3 separate regions of the Homo sapiens genome follow, and regions 1 and 2 are each linked to region 3. The links are contacts of gene promoters, found by promoter capture Hi-C in human tissues and cell types (Jung and others, 2019). All regions are on one chromosome and are shown on one strand. Each heading gives the region's core, a stretch centred on a gene start or on the middle of the fragment in contact. The rest is flanking DNA. Distances are from core to core; before and after follow the strand shown. Region 1 overlaps ATP13A3 (ATPase 13A3). Region 2 overlaps ATP13A3 (ATPase 13A3). Region 3 holds the start of TMEM44 (transmembrane protein 44).

Region 1 (4,103 bases), core at 1,234-3,733, 160 kb before region 3:
TTGTTGATAATAGAAAAGGTTTTCAGAAAATTAAAAATTAAACAGCTGGGTGCAGTGGTGCATGCCTATAGTCTCAGCTACTCAGGAGGCTGAAATGAGAGAACCACTTGAGCCCAAAAGTTTGAGTCCAGCCTGGGCAGAACAGTGAGACTCCATCACTAAAAAAATAAAAATAAAAAATTTAAAAATTAATTCCCACCCATCTGAAGCTTTTAGACAGAAGAAAACTTTCAGAAGACATTTATTTCTGGCACAGAGGGCCACGAATATTAAGGACTCTGCCTCTGGGGCACTGACTCAAAAGTCCACTGACTCAATCTACTATGTGCCAGGTATTATCCATAAACTCAATTCACCAAACTTCTGTTGGTTTTTGAATCTTACTCTTCTTCACCCTTGTCTTTCATCAATTTCCCACAAACCTACAGACTTCCCACTCCTGTAAATCCAAATTTTTCAATGTAGAATGTATGTATAAATAGATGAATAAGCATGTTTTATAACTTTAGAAAGGAACTGCCGTTAAAATCCAATGTTTTCATTAAGCCCATGTACTTTTAACTATTTAAAACTTTTTCTCCATCTATAGAAGGAGTTCATTCACCTTAGTTCAGCATAATAATATTTTTCACTTCATCTTCTACAGTTAGACCACATAAAGAACTCTTCCAATTAATTATTTTTAAATGAGCTTATTATAGGCAGTTCACTGCCTATAGCAATCTATTTTCATACTTTTCAAAATACAATTTTTTAACCATATTACACCATTACTCTTTTTATGAGTGTAATTTCTCTAAAACGTAGTTGTTTTTTAAAGCAAATTAAGTCTTAGCAAATTTTACCAAAGTGCTAAAAATAAACAATTCAAATAAAAAGTTGCTCTAAAAACCTCCAATTAATTATTCACTTTGAATATATTATACACCTCAAAGGAAATTACCCAAGAATTCACTTTTCACATAAACTTTTAGTCAACTCCAATGCGACAACTCCAACAGCTCTTACATTTAGAACATATGTATGTTAAAAACATATTTAAATTTTAAATGTACATAAGTAAAAGCCCTGATTATTTCAATGACTGAGAGGATAAAAAACCACATAAACATATTTAAAATACACTGCTTATCAAGATAAAAATACATATTAAATACAATTCTACTATATATCTAATCAGACATTTGAAGCATTAATACCAAATTGATAAACCCATTACTTACAGAAATATAACTTTTCTGGACTGCTGGAGCACACGTTTTTTAACCAAGTCAAATTCGATATCAGAGAAAACAAATTGAAGAAATTTTTCTTACCAGTAGCACTATATCATCATTCTTCCCAATTCCTGATATTTGCACAGCTTTCAAAAGCTGGCTTTTAATAATAAAAATAAAACTAAGCATAAAAATTTGGAATTTTATGCCAAATATTTCTGTTTCGGTTCTGTCTGAACTGCTTTCAAAATGATTAAGGTATTAAAATTTAGAATTTTGTAATTCACCAATTTTTAGTAAGTTTTCAGAAGATGTGCCCTTCTGCCATCTGTCACTCGTAGAGCTCCTATTATTTGAATAAATCCTAGCTAGTTAGCTCACCGAAGTTCCAATTCCACAGTGCATGCCTGAGTCTTGATGTTATCTAAATAGCAAGGAGCTTATAGGCTATTGTGCTTAACCAAACCCTTCCTTGAATTTATAATAAACTTGATTTGCTGTGTGAGTTTAAAAAAAAAAAAAAAAAAACAGTATGGGACAAAGTGAAGCTACTGGGAAAAAAAATCTCACTACATTAAATATGCCAATTTTTGAAAGTTTACTTATTTTTTCACATTATGTAATTACTACAAACAATTAAAGTATACTATTTATCCTATACCATGCTAAAAGTTAGTCAGATTTCATTCCTTAAAACAAGATCAGTTGTTTTCAGACACAGAAATCTCCAAACCTCAAAGACATCTTTGCTTCAAACCTGAGTTTCTCAAGAGTTGTAACAATATTATAATAGTGAGTGTGGAGAGTGTTGAATTTTTTTAAGGATAGTCTATGTACGTGCCTACAATTCCAAAGTAGGTAATTTCACGAAGTGATTTAAATAACGACCTGTAATCAAGTAAAAGTTCAGGCAAAGCAATTTTGAATAATACATTTTTAATTTAATTTTTTCCTTCAGTCAGTATTTGCCATCTTCAGCAGTACTGAAGTAAAAAACTAAAATTAAAAATGCATTATTCACCGAGGCGGGTGGAATGCCTGAGGTCAGGAGTTTGAGACCAGCGTGGTCAGCATGGTGAAACCCCATCTCTACTAAAAATACAAAAATGAGCCAGGCAAGGTAGCATGCGCCTGTAATCCTGGCTACTTAGGAGGCTGAGGCAGGAGAATCGTTTGAACCTGGAGGTGGAGGTTGCAGTAAGCCAAGACTGCGCCACTGCACTCCAGCCAGCATGACAGAGCAAGACTCCATCACACACACACACCAAAAAAAAAAAAGCGCATCATTCAAAATTCACAGCTGGGTGCAGTGGCTCACGCCTATAATCCCAGCACTTTGAGAGGCCAAGGCAGGAGGATCACATGAGGCCAGGAGTTTGAGACCAGTCCAGCCAACATAGTGAAACCCCATCTCTACTAAAAATACAAAAATTAGGCAGGTGTGGTGGTGCATATCTGTAATCCTAGTTACTAGGGAGAGGCTGAGGCAGGAGAATTGCTTGAACCCAGGAGGCGGAGGGTTGCAATGAGCAGAGATCACACCACTGCACTCCGGCCTGGGAACAGAGTGAGACTCTGTCTCAAAAAAGAAAAAAAAACTCACAAAAATAAATAAGTATAAAAGAAATTCCAGTAACTGAATTTCTCAATGGTGTTTAAGTTTATAACATATATAATTCTGGAGTTTTAAAAATTAAAACTTCACTGAGATTTCTGTGACACCTTGTATTGTTGAATGAGAGAAGGAATTATCCCGCTTTGTTTTGCAGTCCTAGATTTTTTTTCTGAGAATTACACATACCTACCAATGTTAAATAAATATTTGATAAACCCATCTTTAAAGACCACACAAGCCAAGAGTGCTTTAATGATCTTGAAATATAAACAGCACAGCTAGCATTCTAAATATTATTTTATTCTCAAACTTGTAAAATTTACAGTAACTGAGAAGATAACCTTGTCCAGTTCAAAATCAGTTCTACTTTTTGCTGTTGAAATAAAATATGCCCCAATACGTTTAAAGCCTTAACTTTAGTCATTGAACAATTTCAATTTTAATACCTATACAAATATATACAAAAAGAATTTTTAAAAAATCAGAATCATCCAACTGTAATAACCAAATTGTGACAATTCTTTATGAGGGCAAAACTTAAAACTTCAAGTCAGCTCCTAAAAATAAGAATGACATAATATAATTTAATGAATACATGGAAATTTTACAAGGATACCAGCTAAATTTTAACAAAGCTCTACTCAATACCCACTTTATCACTTCCCATCTTGGACTTTCTCTTATAATATGCTTTTGTTTCTGTGTTTAGGCTTAAGGAAGACCATTGTATCCAATATACACCAAACCAAGACTGTATTTACATTTGTAAAGTGGAGTCTTTGTATAATTATACTTTTTTGTATGTTACAAAACAATGTGATAGCTATAACAAAATAAGCTATAATTAGGAAAGATAACATAATTACCTGTATTAGGATCAATATGAAGAAGAGTTTAGCCTACACTATACCATTAATTCTTGCATAGGTACTTTATCGCTTTTATCATATACTCTATTTAAAAAACAAAATCAACCCTTTTATTCAGAGAAATCCTACAGAGTTTTGTCTAATTGTATAGTATTTGGCAAAAAGGGGGACATTACCTTTGGACTGACAAATGATACGTGCATTTTACTCTCTCTTTATAAAAAAAAATGTGCAAAATATCATTTATATGCAATGTAATAAAACAGTTTGCATTCTCAAAATGTCCACTTACGTCACTGAGAGATTTTCTATTTCAATTATTCAAGCTACTATGTTCTTAAAACTTTCATACTTTCCCCTAAATTGTTAAAAAGTATGTAACTTTTTAAAATTCCACATTCA
Region 2 (3,884 bases), core at 492-2,991, 180 kb before region 3:
ATTCCCACTTTTTACACATCAAATGGGGAACCAAATACTGTATGCCACATTTTCTGTGGGAAAAGGCCGCCTTTCCACTTCCCTAACCTTAAACCATTTCCTAAGGTCCAAAGAGTAGCCAGAGTGAGGTCAAGAGATGTGACCAACACTATAGCACAGTATCTAGTATTACAGCTGAGTATAATGCAGAATTCGGTCTACTCAGAATTTTAAATCTCCAATATCCAACATATTCATGAGTAAAGGTACAAATGACATAGCTAATTTTGAAAAGGCTTACTCACTAACTTAGTCATGATATATCATGAACAACTCATGTTGATATTTACTCATTTAGCTTACCTGTTAACATGCTTTCGTTTACAATGCAGGTACCATTAATAAGCACAGCATCACAAGGCATTATTGTCCCATTTAATGGAATGACCATGACATCTCCTGGCACAAGGTCGGTAGAAAAGATTTCTTCTATTTCTGAAATTAAAGAAAGAAAGAAAAATCTGAAAAAGATATTCTTTACCTTGGAAAAATACAGCAAATGCTATTCAGAAGTCATCTGATCTCAATAAGAAGTTTATAATGGGGTAAAATAGAAAAATCCAACAAATGGCAAGTTTTAACAAATAAGATTATTAGGCTAACAAAGCACGGTGTGTCAGCTAGTTAGTCTCCTGCTAGGACACCAGCTGTGCACCGGTGATGCCAAGTACCCTCTGACGAAGCAGGTTAAGTGTGCTTCAACACTCATGACAACCGTCCATGATAAATGGTGACTATTAGCCTAAGGAAGAGACACAATGAGTCCACAAAGGAGATGCCTGTGAAACAGGTCAAACAAACTCCGATTTCTATAATCCCTTGGAAACAGAAGGAAGCACTAGAAAACTTAGCATCTTTTCTTTTCAACAGCTTATCTATAATATTCCTTTTCTCACTGCCACTATTTATAACCTTCAAGTCTCATTGCCTCAATATTCCTAAATTACTCTTTTTAGATATTATTTTAAATATGAGTAAATTCATTAAATAAACACTGTAATATTTTATCTAGCTCATTATTTCCTTACAAATTTTAGTGAAACACTTTTAAAAAAAGATCTTCCCTCTGGTACAAGTTGGTGTTTGAAAAAAAGAAAAATGAAAATGAAAAGATCTTCCGAAGGGTGAAAGGCTTTTCTTTAGGGTCACCTTATATGTAGGTATTCTCTCTCTTTTCCTCTCATTCTCTAACACCCTCCCTCTCCCTGTCCAGGTTTAATACTGTGCTCAGAAGACAGTCACACTAGTTTATAAATGGAGATGGATGAGAAGAAACTTATTGTTTGTGATGTTAGCCTGTAAGACAAACACTCTTTCTTTCCTTTTTTTAAAAAAGGAAGTAATTTACTAAATTATGAGGGAACAACTTTTAAAGAATGACATTTAGTACATAGTAGATATTATCGATCTTCGTTTTAAAAATAAGATCCCTTCTTTTAAAAATTTGGATTTCTTTAAAAAGAAAATAAATCCATTCCTCAGATGGGAAGAAAAAAGTAAAAATTTGACTTTTCTTAAAGCTTTTAAATACCACTTGAAGTTCTACTCCTTTTAGGCGTACCAGAAAACAAGGTATCAATGACATGTAAGACTATACAAAGTGGGTAAGGAAGATTCAAGTTGAATGGTATGTCTGCCCTGGCATCCCCATTATATTCAGCAACAGCAGAACAAGAAGAGGAGAGGCATCAATAAGCTACACATCTTAGACTTCAGCTAAGGGAGGCAGATCTTCCTAGCTAGAGTAGCAAGTGGCCAGGAAGCACAGGGAAGGAAGCAATCTCTTGGGTGTAGTCTGAGTCAAGAAAATGGAGACTGATTTGGTGTTCTGAGTAAATCAAAGCGGCTTCTGCCTCCAAGGCCCATGATGCTGTGCTGCCTCCTTTACCTCTTCAACATCTTGCCAGACAAGTTACACGTCCAAAATATTACCATTCTTGCAAGCCTGCTTCTCTTCCAGTTTCCTATTTAACTAAACAGCACCAACATCCATCCACCTAGCCAGACACTGCTCCATGGCCTCATATCCAATGAGTCAAATCCTGTTCAATGGTCACATTTAAGTATCTTTTGAACTCATTTCTTTTCATCTCCGCAATTGCTACCTTGATTCGGGGGGGCATGTCTTCAGTATTACTCTCCTCTAAACCAGTCTGAATGTGGACGCCAGAATGATTTTTTTCCAAAGGGCAAGTATTTTATCACTCCTCTGCTTAAAACCCTTCAATGGTGGCTATGCATGGTGGCTCATGCCAGTAATCCCAGCACTCTGGGAGGCCAAGGCGGGCAGATCACTTGAGGCCAGGAGTACCAAACCAGCCTGGCCAACAAGGTTGACACTGTTTCTACTAAAAACACAAAAATTAGCTGGGTGTGATGGTGTGTACGCCTGTAATCCCAGCACTCTGGAAGGCCAAGGCGGGTGGATCACTTCAGACCCAGAGTTAGAGACCAGCCTGGCCAACATGGTAACACCCTGTTTCTACTAAAAATACAAAAAACTGGCTGGGCGTGGTGGCACATGCCTCTAATCCCGGCTACTCAGGAGGCTGAGGCACAAGAATTCCTTGAACCTGGGAGGCGGAGGTTGCAGTGAGCCAAGATTGCCACTGCACTCCAGCCTGGGAAGGAGACTCTATCGAAAAAATAAAATAAAATAAAATAAATTAATAATAATAGCCTTCAATGGCTTTCCACTGTCTTTTGGACTGAGCCCAAATCCCTAACATGCTTCAGAGAGCTATCCATCATTTATAGTTGCTGTATTTGTCATACTAAATTTCTTCTTTCAGTTCTTATAATGTCCACACAATCTCTAATTTCTAGGCCTTTGGGTATTTAGAACCCTCTTCTCTCCTTCTCTCAGCCTCCCCTTATCAACTTCTCACCTACCTCTTATTTGGCTAATTCAAATAGTCATCACTTACAAGCACTTAATCAAAGAAGTCATCCCTGATACCTACAGTAAATGAGCTCCCCTAATACATAAGTTGGCTGACTTCTCCTTATCATAGCATTTGTCACACTGTATTGTTACTGTTACTACTGTTATCTCTACACCGAATCCCCAGAGCCTAGCATAGTGCCTGCTACATAGAAGAAAAATACAATTTTATATAAATAAATGAATTTGATACAAACTCAGGAACTGAAATGTATACTTTTAGTTCTTAAAAAAATGAATGTATGTGCGAGGCAGAGTGGCTCAAGCCTGTAATCTCAAGACTGTGGGAGACTGAGGCAGGAGGATCTCTTGAGCCCAGGAATTCAAGACCAGCATGGGCAACACAGTGAGACCTCGCCTCTTCAAAAAAAGAGAAAAAATTAGCCAGGAATGGTGGCACAAGCCTGTAGTCCCACCTACTTGGGAGGCTGAGACAGGAGGGTAAGTTGAGCCACTGCACTCAGGCCTGTGCAACAGTGAGACCACATCGACTTTAAAAAAAAAAAAAAAAAAAAAAAGGCCGGGTGCACAGTGCAGTGGCTCAAACCTGTAATCCCAACACTTTGGGAGGCCCAGGTGGGCAGATCACTTCAGCCCAGAAGTCTGAGACCAGACTGGGCAACATGGCAAAACCCTGTCTCTAAAAAAAAAAAAAATAGAAAAATTAGCTGGGCATGGTGGCATGCACCTGTAGTCCCAGCTACTCGGGAGCCTAAAGTGGGAGGATTACTTGAGTCTGGGAGGTCAAGGCTGCAGTAAGCTGAGATTGTGCCTTTGCACTCCAGCCTAAGTGACAGAGACACTGACTCAATCAATCAATCAATCAAAGAATGTATATGTATTATACTTTGGGCTTACTTCACACATTATGCCTAACAGGTATCTTTTTTGATTTATTCTT
Region 3 (4,077 bases), core at 526-3,025:
CCTCTGGTGAGAAGGTGAGTTAATGGTGGTCTTCTGGCTTCACACGCGGGGGCTTTGCTCCGTACCCTGTTGTTCTCAGCCACTTCCCCAGCTCTTGGGGCCAGGGTGCCAGCTGACCTTAACCCAGCCCACACACCACTCCGAAGACACATTCTTCTAAGAGAAAGGGGAGCAGGGGAGGTTCAGGGATGGCAAGGCCCTGAAAACAAATGGGTATGTCCAGATCCCAGGCAGGGTGAGAAGCAGAGGCTCACTCTTAACCCCTCCAAGGTTGGCAAAGTGCCTAACAGTGCTGGTCTGAGGACAACTGTGAGGAACAAAAGGATAATGCGTGTCCAGCGCCTTGTTAGTTTCCAGCCTCTGATCTGAACAGTTTAATCTCTCTTACCAGCCTGCCCCTTTCCAATAGGATCTGGGGTTTTGGTTCTTTCCTTTCACTCAGACAAGTTATTTAACCTCTCAGAACCTCAGGGTTCCCTACAGAAAGTGGGGGTAACAGCACCTACCTCCTGGTGCTGATATTGTGAGTGGCAGGCATTGAATGAGTTAATGAATGCAACACTGGGCCTACAGTAAATGTTCTAGGCGTCTTTTTATTTGTATTGCAGTACTGGGTAGTGGGGCTGCAGAATCTCTGCAATACGACCAAACGCCTTAGGAGAATATCCACTGAGTGCCTACAGGGAGACAGTTCTAACCTCTCCCAGGGGTGCTGGTCCTTTCTCCCCTGCCAGGGAATGCTTGGGCGGCACCATCCTGAGCACTGCTAGTGGATTTCCATGCCTAGGACAGAGCGGCTGAGGACCTGGAGATTCACTCTTAGAACTTAGGCTACCGTGGGCATCTGGACAAACCAGTCCAGGTGCTGGACAGACCAGGGCAAAGACAGGCCAGCTGGATCATATCACTACCTCCCTTCCCACCTAAGAGGACTTTGGGTAAACTGAGGCCAGAAACATCAAGGGACTTGCCAAGGTCCTAAGAGTTGGTGGCCTAGCTGGAGCAATACAAATGATGTTTAATGAGCATTTACTAAGTGCTTTAACGGTACTGATTCATCGAATCCTCCCATCATCCTATGAGGTATTATCTCCGGTCATAGGAGGCCCAGAGAGGTTCTGGAGCTTGCCCAGGTCACACTGCGAGTCAATGGCGAAGGGCTGACAATAGCACCCAGGGCTCGCGGTGTCCTCGGGGCCCCATCCGCTGCACCACCCAGCCTCCTCCCTTTGGCTCACAGCCCAGCTTCCCTGTGCGTGGGATCCGGAAAGAAGATCCCACTTCAGTCTACAGAGCAATGTTCCATTGGATCCTATTACTGAGCCATCTCCTTCATCCCCCTTTCCGCCCCCTCCTCTAGGTTTCCGAGAGGGAGCAGCAGGGGATTGGCGCCCGTTTCCCCGCCCGACAGCCCCCCGACCCGTGGCCCCATTACAGCGCGTGGGCGGCGATCCAGCAGGAGGAGGCGCAGATCCACAGGCCGAAGGAGATGCAGACGCGGTGGCGGGCGAAGCAGCGGTCCAGGTAGTCCCAGTCCCAGAGCGCGGGCGCGGGGCTGGGCGCCTCCCCCATGGCGCGGCTGGGCGCGCGGCGCGGGGCCGGGGACCTGGGCGCAGCCTCCCTCGCCGCGGGCAAGCCCCGAGCGCCGCCGCCCCGCGTGCCCTTCTCTGGGTTCCGTTCCGCCGCGGCGCCTCCGGCCGAGCGCACCGACCGCGGGCAGAGAAGGGCGCGCTCCCGGGCGCGGGCGGCGGCGGCGAAGGCGCCGGGGAAAAGTTTCCGGGACCGCGCGCTCCCCACCCCTCGCGCTATTGTCGGGGGTCGGCAGGGCGGAGGCCGCCCCCCAGCGGCGGGAGCCGGGAGCTGCGCGCGCACAAAGACTGCGGCCCCCGCCCCCCGCCGACCTCTTCGCGGTCACCCACCTCCAACATCCTGGCCGGAGCGGGGCGGGCGGCTGGGCTCGCGGACGGCCGAGTCCCTGCCGGTCGCTGTAAGGCACGGCGTCCCTTCCTGCGTATTGTCCACATTTCCTGAGCCAACAGCAATTAGTTGCGCTGCTGAAGCGCATGGGTGCTGGGATCCCGAGGTGAAGGGGGCGTGGTCCTGATCGCCGACAGGGCGCAGTAAAAAGGGTGGGGTGCAAGACCAGGAAGGAGGAAACAAACGTGCCGGAGAACAAATACCCCCACATCTGCCTCTCACTCTCCTTTCTGAAGCTGCCAACGGCACCCTCCGCCCCCAGGCAGTCGCCCAAGCCCTGCTCCTGGATGTCATCCTAGCCCACGGCCCCGCAGCCAAGAGCTGGTTATCTCTGCAACCGGCCGCCTCCTGTCCAGCCACACACCGCACAGTTCAAGTACACAGGGCTGTTTTTCTTGAGAGTAAACTATTATTGTAATTTTTAAATCTCCTTATTGATTTTAGTAGGTTTGTTTAAAGCAAGACATGACTTGAAAACAATATTTCTATAGAAGGAGCAGGATTGAAAAAAAGAAAAAAAATCTTTTTTAATTTTCAAAAACTACAGCTTTATTTAGATATTATTTATATGCCATAAGCATAGTCTTTTTTTTTTTTTTTTTTTTTGAGACAGAGTCTCACTCTGTTGCCCAGGCTGGAATGCAATGGTGCGATCTCAGCTCCCTGCAGCCTCCGCCTCCCAGGTTCAAGCAATTCTCCTGCCTCCGCCTCCCAAGTAGCTGGGACTACAGGTGCCCGCCACCACACCCGAGTAATTTTTGTATTTTTAGTAGAGACGGTGTTTCACCATGTTGGCCAGGCTGGTCTTAAACTCCTGACCTCGTGATCTGCCCTCCTCAGCCTCTTAAAGTGCTGGGATTACAGGTGTGAGCCACCACATCCAGCCTACATAGTACTTTTAAAATGTACAATTCTGGCCAGGCACGGTGGCTCACAACTGTAGTCCCTGCACTTTGGGAGGCTGAGGCAGGCGGATCACTTGAGGTCAGGAGCTCAAGACCGGCCTGGCCAACATGGTGAAACACTGTCTCTACTAAAAATACAAAAATTAGCCGGGCATGGTGGTGCGCGCCTGTAATCCCAGCACTTTGGGAGGCCGAGGCAGGTGGATCACTTGAGGTCAGGAGTTTGAGACCACCCTGGCCAACATGGTGAAACCCCATCTCTACTAAAAACACAAAAATTAGCCAGGCATGATGGCAGGCGCCTGTAATCCCAGCTACTCGGGAGACTGAGGCAGGAGAACTGCTTGAACCTGGGAGGCGGAGATTGCTGTGAGCTGAGATGGCGCCACTGCACTCCAGCCTGGGCGACAGAGCAAGACTCCATCTCAAAACAAAACAAAAAATAAAATGTACAATTCAGCAGTTTTTAGTGTATCCATAGCGTTGTGCAACCAACATCACTGTCTACTTTTAGAACATTTTCATCACCCCCATCTGAAAAGAACCCGGCCCACTGGCAGTTACTGTCCACTCCCCTCAACACTCGCAGCCCAGGAATCGCAAATCTACCTTCTGTCTCTATGGATTTGCCCATTTTGGACATTCCACATCAATGGAATCATCCACTATATGACCTTTCTGTGACTTTCACTTAGCATGTTTTCAAGGTTCATTCATGTTGCTGCGTGTTATCAGTACTTCATTCCTGTTTATGGCTCATCATAATACATGGTATGGGTATTTTTATACCACATTTCGTTTATCCACTCATTAGTGGGATGTTTGGATTGCTTTCACCTTTGGGCTATTATGAATAATGCTGCTCTGAACATTTGTGCACAAGTTTTTGTGTGGACACAGGTTTCATGCTCTCTTGGGTATATACCTAGGAGTGTCCTTGCTGGGATCTGTGGTAACTGTGTTTAATGTTTTGAGGAATTGCCAGACTATTTTCCAAAGTGGCTACACTATTTTAGTGGTTCACTGTGTTTTCAAAGTTATGATTTGGCTTGGTAAGGTGGCTCATGCCTGTAATCCCAGCACTCTGGGAGGCCAAGGTGGGAGGATCAGTGGAGCCCAGGAGTTGGAGACCAGCCTAGACAACATAGGGAGACCCCGGTCTCTCAAAACAAAACAAAGTTATAACCTCTCAGGA

The links. Contacts are between HindIII fragments. The study calls those that stand out against the background at their distance.
Region 1: a contact is called between a fragment that was not itself captured here and the fragment with the promoter of TMEM44 in region 3, in 1 of the 25 tissues and cell types used here (spleen).
Region 2: a contact is called between a fragment that was not itself captured here and the fragment with the promoter of TMEM44 in region 3, in 1 of the 25 tissues and cell types used here (IMR-90 fibroblasts).

What each region holds. Positions count from the first base shown.
Region 1 is chr3:194,466,661-194,470,763 of GRCh38, forward strand. All of the region lies in intron 2 of ATP13A3 (ATPase 13A3), which reads right to left. Among named protein-coding and RNA genes, the nearest start is that of ATP13A3, 18 kb to the right of the region's middle. The HindIII fragment of the contact is 5,781 bases long and covers 1-4,103 here.
Region 2 is chr3:194,449,803-194,453,686 of GRCh38, forward strand. ATP13A3 (ATPase 13A3) reads right to left here. Exons shown (of 34, transcript NM_001367549.1): 11 at 343-474. Among named protein-coding and RNA genes, the nearest start is that of ATP13A3, 35 kb to the right of the region's middle. RefSeq lists an enhancer at 1-895. The HindIII fragment of the contact is 4,181 bases long and covers 1-3,832 here.
Region 3 is chr3:194,631,644-194,635,720 of GRCh38, forward strand. TMEM44 (transmembrane protein 44) reads right to left here and starts at 1,776. Exons shown (of 10, transcript NM_001011655.3): 1 at 1,436-1,776. The coding sequence starts at 1,572. TMEM44-AS2 (TMEM44 antisense RNA 2) reads left to right here and starts at 1,285. Exons shown (of 2, transcript NR_186047.1): 1 at 1,285-1,524. RefSeq lists a silencer at 1,545-1,974. The HindIII fragment of the contact is 16,299 bases long and covers 1-4,077 here.